2 separate regions of the Homo sapiens genome follow, and region 2 is linked to region 1. Evidence: promoter capture Hi-C in 16 types of primary human blood cells and fetal thymus (Javierre and others, 2016). All regions are on one chromosome and are shown on one strand. The core of a region is centred on a gene start or on the middle of the fragment in contact, and the rest is flanking DNA. Distances in the headings are between cores, read along the strand shown.

Region 1 (7,007 bases), core at 427-2,926:
CATATAAGACCTTTAGTGAAACCAAAATTCTGCCGGGTATTTACATAAAAACATTCCTTATGGTTGTATCTGCCCTATTCCATTTTTTTCTTGCTTAACTTCTATTTCACATATTATCCTAATAATACTTGTAGTTTGTATTTTTTTACACCCTGCTCTACCTGGGGTGACAGAAAGGACAGAGGTCAGGTGTTAGGAGACATGCCACTAGCCATCTGGGCAACATCAGGGAAATCTCCCAGCCGTGCTAAGCTCCAAAGATTCATCTGAAACAAAAGATAAAACTGTTCTGCCTACCTCACAGGTTTGCTGTAAAGATCAAGCAAAATCATGTATGTGAAAATGCCTGTAAAGCAGCATTCGAATATAACGTATTAGCCTCTTTGCCATTTCCCCTCTTTCTTCTGGAGTCATATTCAGTGTTTGGCTTGTGCCTGCTGGCAGAAAGCACTTAGAATGGCTTTTTTAGTGCTTAGTGGGGTCGCTGCTCCTAAGCACATTAGAGCAAGTTGCTGCCAGCACTTTTTCTTTAGGAATAAAGAAGTGGCTCTGTCTTTGGAGGAGGTAATAGAAAAACCCTGGCTATGTGGCATCTCCTCTGCCTGAGTTCACCATGTCAAACGGCCTGCCAATTTCATCTCAGTTCAGTTCAGTTTAGGAACTGAAGGTGCCCCAGAGAATCACACTGAATTGAACTGAACCTTCCCATGGTATTCAGATGATGGGACTCGGATTCCATGAATTCCCTTCCATTTCCCTCAACTGTAAGATTGGGACAACAATTGTCTCCACTTCATGGGGGTTGTTGTAAAGATTAAATGAGGTGACTGTGTAACAAAGCTGGCACAAAATAAACGATAAACGCTAGCCAGCATTGTAATTTATTTATTGAGCATCCACTTGGGGTCACACAACATGCTTACCTCCTGGGCTATACAGACGGATAAGGCCTTATTCCTGCTCTGGAGGGGGCTAAAGGTCTGTTATTGTAAATTAAAGTTAGGAGGTGCAGATAATTCACATTTCTCCCCAGATACTTTGTTCCCCTAACAATGTCCCTTTACCTGATTTCCTGTTGAGTGTCATTGCAAGTTCATCATCTGGGGGGCAGATCCCACCTAGTGTCTCCCAAGAGCATGATTCTTAGGCCGTGAGTCCCATGGCCTCTGTACGCCCCATGAGTGAATATGGTTCGACCTTAAAGGAAGTTGGAAACTGGCATGAGCCCTCGGGTGATGAGGGGTTTGAGGAGCTAGGAGCTGCTGGGCCCACATCTACTGGCGCTAAACAGCTTCTCAGCGCTTCCCGGGGCCCGGGTAAGGATTGCAGCGCTTTTATAGCAGCAGTTGGAGAGCGGCGGGGGAATCCTCGTGGCGGCACCGCTGTCCAGGAGGCGCCGACATCTCCGCAAAGGCCCAGTCGGGGTGAGGGGCACTGGGGGGCGACCGGGCCAGAGCGCCCCGAGGTAACAGTTACACGTGGAGGGGAGGAAACTTAGCGTGTCCGAGAGCTCCCAGAGGCGGAGGGGCTCAGAGGGCAGCGGCCGTGTGGTGGCCGCGCAGCCAGGCTGGGAAAGGGAGCACCACGGCCCCGCCACGGGACGCGCTGCCAGCCCCCCGCCCAGCGCACCCCACCCCCTCTCCGCCGCCGCGCACGCAGCGCCGCGGCCCCTGTCAGAAGCTGCAGGATCCGCCCCGGCGAAGCAGGGCCGACTCGCACCCAGGACCCTGGGCCTCTGCCTTCCCTCCTAGCCTTGGAGAAGCAACTGGCCCTCTCCTCCCGCTGAGGAGCGACGCGGGCTGGTAGGACGTCCCGGGAAGGCCGGCAGCTCGCGACCACGTCCCGGCCCAGCCTGGGCGCGCCGAGGAGCAGAGCCAGCGGCCGGCGTTCGCTCCGGCTCCCTCCCCGGCGCTCCGAAGCCGAGGGCGGCTCCTCCGGCTGCAGTCTCGGGGGCGACGCCTTCCCGGGCAGAAGCTTCCAGCAGCGCTCCGCAACTTCTCTCTGCTCCAGTCACTGGGAGAGAGCTCGCCTACCAGGTAAGTAAGGCTGCCCGTGCCTAGGCTGTGGCTCGGGCGGGCGTGTTTCTGAAAGTTGACTTGAAATGCATCCAAGAGTGAGCCGGGCCAGCCGGGGCTCCTCCCCGAGGCGACTCTTTTGCTTCTGCAGACATTCCCGGCACTGGCCGACTGGCGGGAGGACCTCCCCGCGCGCCCCGCACACCGGCTCCTGCGCGCACCCCAACAGAGCGCAGCGCCAGGAGTCCAGAAGCGGGCGGGACGCCCTCCGGGTCCCTTACAGTGCCCCTTCTCGACCTGGGGCAGGTGAGGGCCGCAACGGGGCGGCTGGGACGCGGGATTGCAAACCCCATCGTCCCGCGTGCCTGGACCCGGTCGCTCGAGGGAGGGTACCCACTCTTTATATACCCAATATACCCCAGTAGCTGCGTTCCTGCAGAGACGTCCCGAGGGCCCACCTTCGTATAGGTTGGGGCGGAGTCGGATTCGGGATGGAAAACCTGGGGCAAGGGATGTAGGTGGGGGTGAGGGGGGCAGGAGAAGGAGAAACGCAGTTGGGGGGCGGAGGCCTAAGTACATAACGTGTTGACTTCAAGTGAAATCAGATCAGCCAGAGCAGTTCGCTGTGACTGATCTCTCCTCCCACCCTACATTCTCTTGGCTGGACCCTATCCTCCTGGCTGATTCTGGTCGCCCTGGACACTCCCTCAGTTCTTTCCCAGGAGTGCGGTGGCTGCTGGCGCCGAGTCCCAGCGGGCACGGACGTCAGACGCATCGTTTCTTCTCCTCTACAGGTCCTCCCGGCCCGGCCCGAACATGCTGGACGGCCTAAAGATGGAGGAGAACTTCCAAAGCGCGATCGACACCTCGGCCTCCTTCTCCTCGCTGCTGGGTGAGTGTTCAGGCCGTGCGTCCTGGGCGCACTCTCTTTCCGCTTGGCGCTGAGCTCTGGAGCCCCGCTCTCTGGGACCTGGTCCGCGATAGGGAAGCTAGCGCCCCTCTTCATACACTAAATTGAGCCCCATCACTATCTGTCCGTCAGTGCTTGTGGGTCGTCCCTACCCAAATAAATCCAACAAGCCGCCCCAGGCCTCACGCACTGGGCACCGAATTCCCCAAAGCCGCGAGGGGCGGGCGAGCTTGTTCGTAGGCGTCTGAGTGGCAAGTGATTAAAAATACCCAGGGCTGGATTTTTAATCTCGGAGCTGATCGACGTCTCATAAATGCCGCCCTCTTCTCGCGGCCTAGAGGCAATAGCATCCGAGACCCGAGGCCTGGAGCGCCCAAGTTCGAGGAGGCTTCTCTCCCCCACCAACTCCAGCCCCAATTTCAGCCATGGGCAAGGCCGAGAGAGACTTTTCTGGGCCAGTAGGCAACGCAGCGCGGGGATTAGACCGCGCGGCTGGGCCCTAGGCTCCGCGTTAATTAACTGGAGCTGGATGTCGGGTCCTGTGGGTCCCCCCTCACAACTCCTTTGCAGCGACAGAGGAGGAGCAGCGAGTCAAGGACCCCGGAAGAGTGTCCACACACGGGTCTTGCAGAGCTGAAGCCAGAGATTCTGGTTACGGCTCCCCCACCCACTCTGCCCTTGGAGCTTTTCAAGTTTGGGAAGCCCGTATTTTATTTTATTTTATTTTATTTATTTATTTTTAGCAGGAGGGAGTTTTCCTTCTGTCCTTTAAACCTCTTGCCTCTTTCACTCGGAACCGCTAGAGCGGCATGAATGTGGAGGATGAGACAGTTCTGCTGGAGAAACCAAATCCAGTGAGGAATCTCCCCACCCCCAACACCCTAGATGAAACGAAATCACGTGCACTGAGCGCCCCTCTTTGAACCCCCCTTTCGGGAACTTTTGGACTTGCCCAGCCTCGGAAGAGAGCGGAAGCCAGAGCAGGCAGTACCCGGGCGGGCAGCGGGTGCGGATTTATGTATACAGCGGGCGTCGCTTTTTACTCTGTGTCCTCCGCTCGGCCCACGTTCGCTCTCAACGTGGCCCAGGACGCCGAGACCCTACCGAAAGAAAATAGAATTGTAAAATTGGGATCTATCTCGCTGCTTCTCCTAACCTTCCTCATCCGCTCCCAAAGCGACCGGCCCAGCTCCCGAGCCGGTGGCCGGGCCTCTCGGAAGGGGAGAATGAGAAGAGTGCAGCCGGGAAATGGGGAGCGCAAGAGTGTTGGTACTGGGGGGACAAGGGCAAGAGTGTTGTTGCTGGGGGACAAGGCCTTCTTTAAATAGCTGTGAAAAGTGCCAATATAGGTGGCCAAGCGTCGCCACCTGAACCACCTCTCCGCCCCCCACAAACTAAAGGAACAAAACACAAAGTCCAAGGGGTAGCAAAGAGTGGATTTCCTGCCTCCGCTGAGTCACTTTGAGGCCCGTTTCGCCCTCAAGCACTGCTGCCGAACGCGCCTGGCATCGGGAATCCCGGCCGGGACACTCAGCGGCTTGCTTCTTCCGCTATTTTTTTCCCTCCCTCTGTTTTGACGCTTCTTAGTTATCAAAAACCCATGTGCAATATGCATGCCAGTCAAGACGCAGCAGTTTGGGGTTCATCGGTTTGAATAATATTAGGTTTGCTTCGGAGTGAGACGGTATTTTTCTGTACCCCCAGGACTTTTTAGGAAGAAAAGAGAAAATTTTGTTCCCCCTCAAAAAATAGAACAGAACTCTGCGTTTTAACAAAGAAAAATCCAAATTGTTCTTATGCATTCTCAGTTTTTAAAACAGTCAGTAGAGACAGGCATAGTGATTTAATAATTAATTACGACGTAATAAACCTGAGAGCACAAATTTGTATGTAATTTAATCTTACAGGATGTGCAGACGTTTGCGAGCATACCTGGGTATGTTTGTTAATTAAAGGCCAATTATTGATTTCTATACCCTCCCCCGCTTGGAATTAAACCTTCTCACATAGTCTCCGTTTATTAGAAACGCCACTTGGCTTGATTTTTTCCAGGTTTCAGCTTGGTTGATTAGCAGGAGTTCCCTGGGGTGGGGGGCGCTGGGGGAATCCGTGGATGTGAAGGGATCAGGAGCGGGTCCCGGCCAGGTTTGGCATGGTCTACCTGCCCGGGCTGCTCACCCGCCAACGTCTGTTGTGGCTACAGGCAGAGCGGTGAGCCCCAAGTCTGTCTGCGAGGGCTGTCAGCGGGTCATCTTGGACAGGTTTCTGCTGCGGCTCAACGACAGCTTCTGGCATGAGCAGTGCGTGCAGTGCGCCTCCTGCAAAGAGCCCCTGGAGACCACCTGCTTCTACCGGGACAAGAAGCTGTACTGCAAGTATGACTACGAGAAGTAAGTGGCCGCACCCCCGCAGCGCTCCCCGCGCACTGGCATCAGTGTGCGTCGAGGACTTTGTCCTCCTTTACCCTAGTCCTTTTCTGGAAGGCCCAAGAGACACGCCCAGCGAGCAGAACTTCCCTTCAGCGCAGTCGTGTACATTGCCCCTCACGGGAAGGTGGTAGGGCAGAGATCCGCGCGGGTGCGCGCAGCAGTGGCCCGAGTCCCGCAGAAGTGCGCGCAATGGCTGTCCTCCACGGTCTGCTCGCCTGCTTTCTGGTCCTTCCAGGCCCCTTTCTCTGACTCGGCCGTTTCCAGAGGCCACTCTTTGTTAGCCTTGGAATCCCTCGAGCTTGGTCTCCCTCTTTTACCGGGGTGCCCTGCGGGTTGCCAGTGACCCCGTGTCTCCTTGCTGGTTCTCACCCCATGTTACCCAGGTGTCCGCGCCAGCGTCGCGCCTGTGCCTTGCGGTGAGACTGTATTGACCCCGCAGCTTCTGTCCCCTGTGCCCTGTGCGCGTTTCCCGCTCGGGTTTGTTCGCTGGAGTCCGGACAGTTTGGGCTCGGAAATGGCTCTGCTGCCATTCGGAGCTAAGCGCACAGCCCGTTCGCCCTTTCACTGTCGCCTTCCTGGTTTTCTGCAGAACCCTCGGATGCAGGGGCTTTTAGGACAGTAGTTGGGGCCTGAACTGAAGCCCTCTCCTTCAACCTGTGCCGCCATCCTAGTTCAGGTGTGGGTACGCTCTTCTGCCACGGAGCAAGTTCAGTTCCCTCCTGTCCACATGAACGTTCTGGTACGTTCAGAGGAGAACTGGGAGGCAGGAATTTAAGAAAGTGGATATTTCGAAACTGGATTTTTATAACACTAAAGCCTGGATGAAGCCAGAAAGTGGGAGGTAGAAGAACTTCCTTATTCTCTCCGGGCGTGCCGGGAGGAGCTTAGGAGGTGTAAGGAGAGGGAACGGTTTTTTCCTTGCGAAATGTTTAATTAATAAGTGTATTGGCTTTGCAGGGCTTTGGAGATGATTGAAGAAAAGTGGCTGATCCAGAGGTCTCTGTTTTTGTGCATTAGGACTGGTGTAGGTTGACTGTGTGGACGCGCGCGTGCACGCGCAGAATTCTGCATTTGTCACTGGTGAATGAAAGGGACAGCATTACATGAAGATAATCAAAGGAGGGTTAGCGTGCGTGAAAAGCAGTTCTATCATGTTATATAAAAACACAGTGAGAGGGGCTGAACGGGAGAAGTCTCTGTATAACAAAAAGCACTGAGAATAAATAGAAGTTTATTTATTATTGTTGTCTGGGGCTATGCAAGTTTAAAAACTTGACAAAGTGATTAGACCCTGTGACCACACAAAAAAATTGTTTCTGCCACTCCGCTTTTTTGCCCTAAAATTCTCGAATTTTAACCCCATGTGGAGAGAGTACTAGGCATTTTCTTTTGTCATTTTGAAAAGATAATAGCTTGGCTTTTTTCAGAACTAAAAGAAACGTGTGCTGGATTTTGGATGAGCTGGACAATACAGAAATATATAAAGAAGTGAAAACTCCCTATGACAACCTATGAAGTGATCATTATGGATAACATTTTTGAGAGAAGATGTGACTGTGTATTCTTGGTTGTCTGTTTATTGACATGTTGTCTGAGTGAAAAGTGTAATTTTTAGGTAGTTAAATAGATTTAGCCCACATAACTTCAAGTATC
Region 2 (6,789 bases), core at 4,228-6,727, 210 kb before region 1:
ATTTATGTATTGCTTATGTTGGGTTCTGCTCTTTGTATCTTTTCATTGCAGGACCCTGGTTGAAGGAACCTGTTGTTCTTATGGTGGAGGGCAGAAACCCAAGAGGGCTGGAGCCAATCCATGTAAGTGTATTTAAAGTCTCTGCTTGGCCATGGTGTGTATCACATTTGCTCACATTCATGATCATATGGTCAAGCTCAGAGTCACTTGGTAGGTAAGTGTACTTCATCTAAAGGGAAACATGGTAGGAGCTTTGTAAATGAATAGTGTAATCTGTAGCAAGGAAGAATTTTAATAGAGGGAATTCTTGGTAATACAAGTATTGATCATTGCATACATGCAATATTCGAGCCTTTTCGTTTCTATCTTTCCCTTTGGCTATGGAAGTTTGTGTCCTTATTCAGTTTTTCTTACTTAAAGCAGAGCTGATGAAAGATAATTTGTCAATATCTGAGAAAAGGTTTCCTGTTTCTCTTCCACCCTCTTATTCTCAGCCACTTGTGATTCATCCTTCTGTGCTGCTGGCATTCTCAAAGCTTTCATAGGCTCCTTTTTCTTCTTCTTCTATGCTCTTCTACAGGTGATCTTATACATAAGCATGGCTTCAGTTAAGTACTCTCTGTTGATTCTTACTTCCACATTCTCAGCACAGAAGCCTCAGAGTCCCAGACCCATATAACTTACTGCCTGCTCGACATCTCTGCTATGATTTCCACATAAATGTCAGTATAGTAAGACTTAACTCTAGTCACCGTAAGTGTACCCTCAAGGACAAGGCCATCCAGCCAGTTGTTCTTGGCAAACACTTAGAATCCATTCTTAGTATCTCCTTCTCCCTTACTCTCCTATCCAATCAATTTACAGATTCTCTTCTCTTTATCTCATTGGGGACCCTGTGATCAGCCACTTCTTCCCATCCCTACTGCTACCACCAAACCATGATCCTCTTTCACCTGGCTATTGCAATGTCCTCTAACTGTCTTTTTACATCCTTTCTTTTTCCTTTCTAGTCAGAGTCTTTTTATTTAAATTCAAACTTGGTCATCTTCTTTTGGCTTAAAACTCTTCGATGACTTTCAGTAGCTTTTAGGATAAAGACCAAAACCCTTTCCATGGCCCTGCTGATTTGGCCTTTTCCTGTCTCTCCCATTTTATTTTGCACCACTCTTCTTATTGCTTATATTGTAGCTTCAATGTTCTCCTCTTTCAAGTCCTTGAATATGTCATGCTGTCACCTACCTTGGCGACTTTGCACATGCTTTCCTCAGTTGCAATGTTTTTTCCTGACCTCCATCCTTGAAATCCCAGCTCAGATGTCTCCTTGTTGAAACACTCCTTAGCTTCTCCAGACTGAGAGAACTCTTTGCTCTTCTGTGGTCTAAAAAAGTCTAAACATATATTTATGTGTGAAGAATCCATCTTATAATGTTATTATTTGCTTATATGACCCTCTGCCTGAGGTGCAAAGTCTTAGAGTAGGGTACCATTTCATTTTCCAAACAATTTTTAAAAAATCTTTTTCTGTCAAAAAAAAATTTTGCAAAACCCAGCTAAGGCTTAGAGAAACCAAGATTCCCCACTTGAGGACTTCTTTTAAATGAAACCCGATACTAACAAGCGTAAAAAAATTGGAGGCAGCTGGGCACGGTGGCTCATGCCTGTAATCCCAGCACTTTGGGAGGTTGAGACGAGTGGATCATGAGGTCAGAAGTTCAAGACCAGTCTGGCCAAGATGGTGAAACCTCTTCTCTATTAAAAATACAAAAATTAGCCAGGCGTGGTGGCAGGCGCCTGTAATCCCAGCTACTCAGGAGGCTGAGGCAGGAGAATCACTTGAACCCGGGAGATGGAGGTTGCAGTGAGCCCGAGATCATGCCATTACACTCTAGCCTGGGCAATAAGAGCAAAACTCCATCTAAAATTAAAAAAACAAAAAACAAAAAAAACAAAAAAAAGGAGGTAGGGGGAATATCAGAGCTCTAGCCCACAACCTTTATTTTTACTAACAAAGAAATTGAAGGCTAGAGAGATAAAATTGTTTGCTTATGATTATGCAGCTGGTGGTGTCAAGCAAGAATGAAACATGAGTGCTATGAGTCCATCTGAAAAAGAGCATTCTTGTGTGTGGGTGCTAAGGTGGCTCATTCTCTCCCCCAAACCACCAGTTTTTTTGAACACCTAATTTGTGCTAGGAATGATATTAAAGTCCTTTATATGAAGAGTCTCTAACTTTTAGAACCACAAGGCGAGTTTAATCCCCATTTTAATTTGAGGGAAAAGGAGAATAACAGAGATTATAATGTGTTCAAGGCTCATGTCACTCACTAGGAAATGTCTAACCATGTCAATAATACTTATCATTATATTATATTTCTTTTTACTTGTTTATTGGGCAGGGTGAGGAGTTAAGGCTAGATCAGCCTAAGGAGATTTTCACTGGAAACTGGTAATCCCTGAGAAGCTTTCTTAGTAGGAGACTTGAGAGGTTTCAGCGCTTCAGTGTAAGTTGTTGCAGTATGAGTTTCAGTGAGCCTGTAATTCAAAGAGCTTTATGGAGCCCCTACCATGTGTACTGCATCATGCCAAGTTAAGTGCAGGTAAAGAAGAACTAGAAGCCATGAGTATGCGCCAGTCCTGATCCATTTTGCTGAATGAGAATGAGCCCAGAGTCACTTAAATGAGTGCGAGGAGTGGCATGCAAGTAAACTCTAAGTTATGTACCTGAGTCTGTTGTTCTTTTTTTCTTTTTTTTTTTTTTGAGATGGAGTTTTGCTCTTGTTGCCTAGGCTGGAGTGCAGTGGCGCAATCTCGGCTCACTGCAATCTCTGCCTCCTGTGTTCAAGTGATTCTTCTGCCTCAGCCTCCCGAGTAGCTGGGATTATAGGCATGCGCCACCACACCTGGCTAATTTTGTAATTTTAGTAGACACGGGGTTTCACCATGTTGGTCGGGCTGGTCTCGAACTCCTGACCTCAGGTGATCCGCCCGCCTCGGCCTCTCAAAGTGCTGGGATTACAGGCGTGAGCCACCGCGCCTGGCTGTTGTTCTTAAATGTTAATCTCTTGGCCTAAATAGTCGGCCTGCTTAAAACATCAACCAGCCCTAACCCTTTCATCATCTGATTCTTGTCAAACACGGAGTGTTGTGTTGAGAATTCCCCACATTCTTAGTGGTTCCTCTGTACTCCTCAGTAGTATCAGAACTATTATTGCCAGAGCTGATTGACAGTGTGCAGTCTTCACCATCTGGCTCCTTGCAAAGAGCGGATAATCCTTTTAAAGTCTTAATAGTAATAGATGATTTGTTTGGCCTTATTTTCTAACATTAGCTTTTAGACAGACTGTGTCAAATCCACAGGTTTTGAATTTGCATCCTAGCCTAGAGATGGAGAGCAGTTACTTAGAAACAGGAGAGCTGAGAACAGGGTCATGCAAAATAAGATTTGGAAAAATGTATTTTGCTAATTTCCCTAACATGGAAGTCTTTTTATCTGTACCTAGTGGGAGAGTAAGTTGGTAGAGAAAACGTGAAACGTGGTGTCAGGAAGACCTGGGTTGCTGAACATCTCAGTTGTGCTGGGGACTAGCCAGTGAAACAGGACAACTGTGAATCTTTCTAAGCATTAGTTTTTTTAACCCATACAATGAGGACAGTAGTATCTTTCAAAGTTGTGGAGTGATTTGTGAGTTAGAAATCATTCTAAAATTATTAGGTAGTGTTCTATGTGGAGCCCAGTCCTTTCTTCCTCAGGTGGGCCGGTGTTGAGGAAATGTAGGGAGGTGGGTGGGGTTGTACATGGAAGGGTTGCTTGTGAGGTATCCTCAGCCCAGTAACGACCTTGCAATCTCAGAAACAGCTGCTGTGTAGATGGGCTTGGCAAAGACCCGGCAAAAGGAGAAACTTCAACAGATGGGCTCAGGGGAGGTGACCAGACACTGCTTCCCTCCTCCCCTTTTGTTAACCTCAGGTATAGAAGGTTGAATTACTCAGAATCCTCCCTTAATGGTGTGTTATCATCCTTGATCCAGACTAGGCTCCTCTCTTATTTTGTTTAATCCCCTTTATCGCCAATTCCCACTCATCATTTTCTGCATGTGCATTCATATAATGTGTTTAAAAGTGTATTTAAAATAGTGCCTTTTTTGGGACAGGTTTTGCTCTCATTCTTGGGAGACATCAGTGAACAAAATAAGCAAAAATGCCCATTCTCAGGGAGCTTATATTCTAGAGGTGAAGGTGGGGATGAGAAGACAGTACTTATTGCCTTTTAGACTAGGATACAATTTAGTTATTATAATTGATTATTGTCTAAGTTAAAAATTGAGCAGGGTAAGGGAAAAGGAGTGTGAATGCATGTGTAGGGTACTTTGAAGGGTTACAAGCCCAGGAAGAGGGAAGAGCCAGTGCAAAGGCTCTGTGGCAGCATCAATGCCCCATATCATTTCATGGCAGCAGGGTGGCCAGTGAGGCTGGGCAGGGTAAGCAATGGGGTAGTGATAGAAGATGACATCAGTGAGGTAAAGAGGTGGTGGGGGTAGGGGTGGAGGCACATCATTTAGGGCCTGGTGGGAGATTGTGAAGACTTTGGCTCTTATTGTGAAGGAAATAGGGAGCCATTTCAGGATGCTGAGTGTTATAGAGTGTTCTCATTATATTTATTCTTTTTTCCCTACTCAGCTGTATTCATCTTGTTGCTAGATGTATACCTAGTTATTTATTTCTCTCTTCTTTTTTCTTTTTTTTTTCCTTTTTTTTTTTTTTTTTGAGACGGAGTCTCACTCTGTCGCTCAGGCTGGAGTGCAGTGGCATGATCTAGGCTCACTGCAAACTCCACCTCCTGGGTTCACGCCATTCTCCTGCCTCAGCCTCCCAAGTAACTGGGACTACAGGTGCCCGCCACCATGCCTGGCGATTTTTTTTTTTGTATTTTTTAGTAGAGATGGGGTTTCACCATGTTAGCCAGGTTGGTCTTGATTTCCTGACCTCATGATCCTCCCACCTCGGCCTCCCAAAGTGCTGGGATTACAGGCGTGAGCCACCACAGCCTGCCCCTAGTTATTTATTTGTAACTGTCCTATAGTAATCCACAAATTTTCCCTAGTCAGTCTTCCACACCCCTGCCATTACAAATAATACTGCCATGGATGTCTTCATATGTGTTCCCTTGTGGACTTGTATGATCATTTCTGTGGAGAAACACCCAGGAACAAGTGGATTTGCTGGGTCCCAGGTCCCACTGAATTTAATTTATTAGTGCCAGATGACTCTCTAGGCTGGCTGTGCCCATTTAGAGTCCCTTCAGCAAGGCATGAGGGTTCCTGCAGCCCAATATCCTTGCCAAAATGCAACATCCAGATTTCAAAGCTTTGCAAATCTAATAGAGACACAGTGACATCTATTGTTTTCATCTGCATTCTCTGATTACTGATGAGCATCAGCATATGCTTGCTAGTTTTTTTTTCATCTCCTATCCATTGCCTGTTCATATTCTTAGCCAGTTTTTTCTATTGGAGTTTCATGCTTTTCTTTTTGATTTGTAGGAGCTCCTTGTATGTTCTGGATATTATCCGGAGTTGTTTTTAGAAGCTTAGATTTAGAGGTGGCCTTTGAGGTAATCTAGTCTAACCACTTCATTTTACAGTTGGGGAAACTGAGACTCAAGCAATAAAGTGATTTTTTTCAGAGTACATATAGAGTGGAAAAGCTGAGACTCGAAATCCCTATATCATATTTAGTGGGAGGACTTGCACTGAGGCAGGAATGAAAGTCAAAGGTAAGCAGGAGCTGCAGGGCATTGCTGCTTCCCCACGATCTGCATTTCTTTGCAGGCAGAAAAGCCACTTTACCTGACTTGTTGGCCAAGGCTAGCTCTGGACCCAAGAGACCCTGGGTCTGATAACCATTTCCTCCTCCCATTCGCACTGCCATGACCTTATTTCAGGACTTTATCCTCTTGCTTGACTTGTGTTTCTCAAATTTTGGTGTGTATGAAATTCACCTAGCGAACTTACTAAAATGCGGGATACTGCCTATCCTTCCTGAGCATCTGAAGGACTGAGAGATCGTCAGGATCTTGATGTGGGTCCATGAGCCTTCTTTGGAGAAACATTTACCACTTTCGTGAGCTCCCTGATTGGTCTTCCATCTCCATTTTCTAGTCACCTTCATTTGTCTTCCAGGCTCCAAACACAACTACAGCTTTTCCCCTAACACATCTGTTTGCCATACCTCCATGCTCTAACCCTTACCATCCATTTGAAATGCTCCTTCCTGTGTGAAATTCTATGATTTTTCAAGATGTAGGTCAAGCATAATCTCCCCTAAAAAGCCCTCCTTGATTTTTCTGAGAATTAAGTGCAGGGGCCTATTGCAAATGGGGAAATGTGGCAGGTGGTATGAGTGTCCCACTGACTAGTACCCTACCCTTTGTAATCACAATGGACATCTCACCATTTAAGGTGGTTAAAGACAAAAGACACCTCTCAGAGGAAAGGAGCAACATCCTAGACCAGCTGGTCTTTCCTTTAAAAAAATTCATTTTTATCAGATATGTATGCACATAGTTTAAAGAGTAGCAGTTGTACAAATTTTTTTAAATTAAATAGCAGTCTTCCATTTTTTGTCCCAGTGTTTTTTCCTCTCCAGAGGCAAGCACCTGGAACTCTTTTTGCTGATTTCTTTTGATATGTCTAAAAATTATGCCTTTATTGCTCCCATTTGATTTTTCAGTGTTAGGCACCAGCTACCGACTTTCCACTGAGACAATGAGGATATAACCCTCCATCCTCC

Evidence for each region. Contacts are between HindIII fragments. The CHiCAGO score rates a contact against its expected background, and 5 or more counts as called.
Region 2: a contact is called between a fragment that was not itself captured here and the fragment with the promoter of LMX1A in region 1, in 1 of 17 cell types (total B cells). The highest score is 5.5, in total B cells.

Annotation. Positions count from the first base shown.
Region 1 is chr1:165,351,384-165,358,390 of GRCh38, reverse strand. It overlaps LMX1A (LIM homeobox transcription factor 1 alpha), which reads left to right and starts at 1,676. Exons shown (of 9, transcript NM_177398.4): 1 at 1,676-2,036; 2 at 2,810-2,907; 3 at 5,129-5,315. The coding sequence starts at 2,832. The HindIII fragment of the contact is 4,667 bases long and covers 1-1,976 here.
Region 2 is chr1:165,567,351-165,574,139 of GRCh38, reverse strand. LRRC52-AS1 (LRRC52 antisense RNA 1) reads left to right here. Exons shown (of 7, transcript NR_026744.2): 3 at 52-122. Among named protein-coding and RNA genes, the nearest start is that of LRRC52-AS1, 11 kb to the left of the region's middle. The HindIII fragment of the contact is 222 bases long and covers 5,367-5,588 here.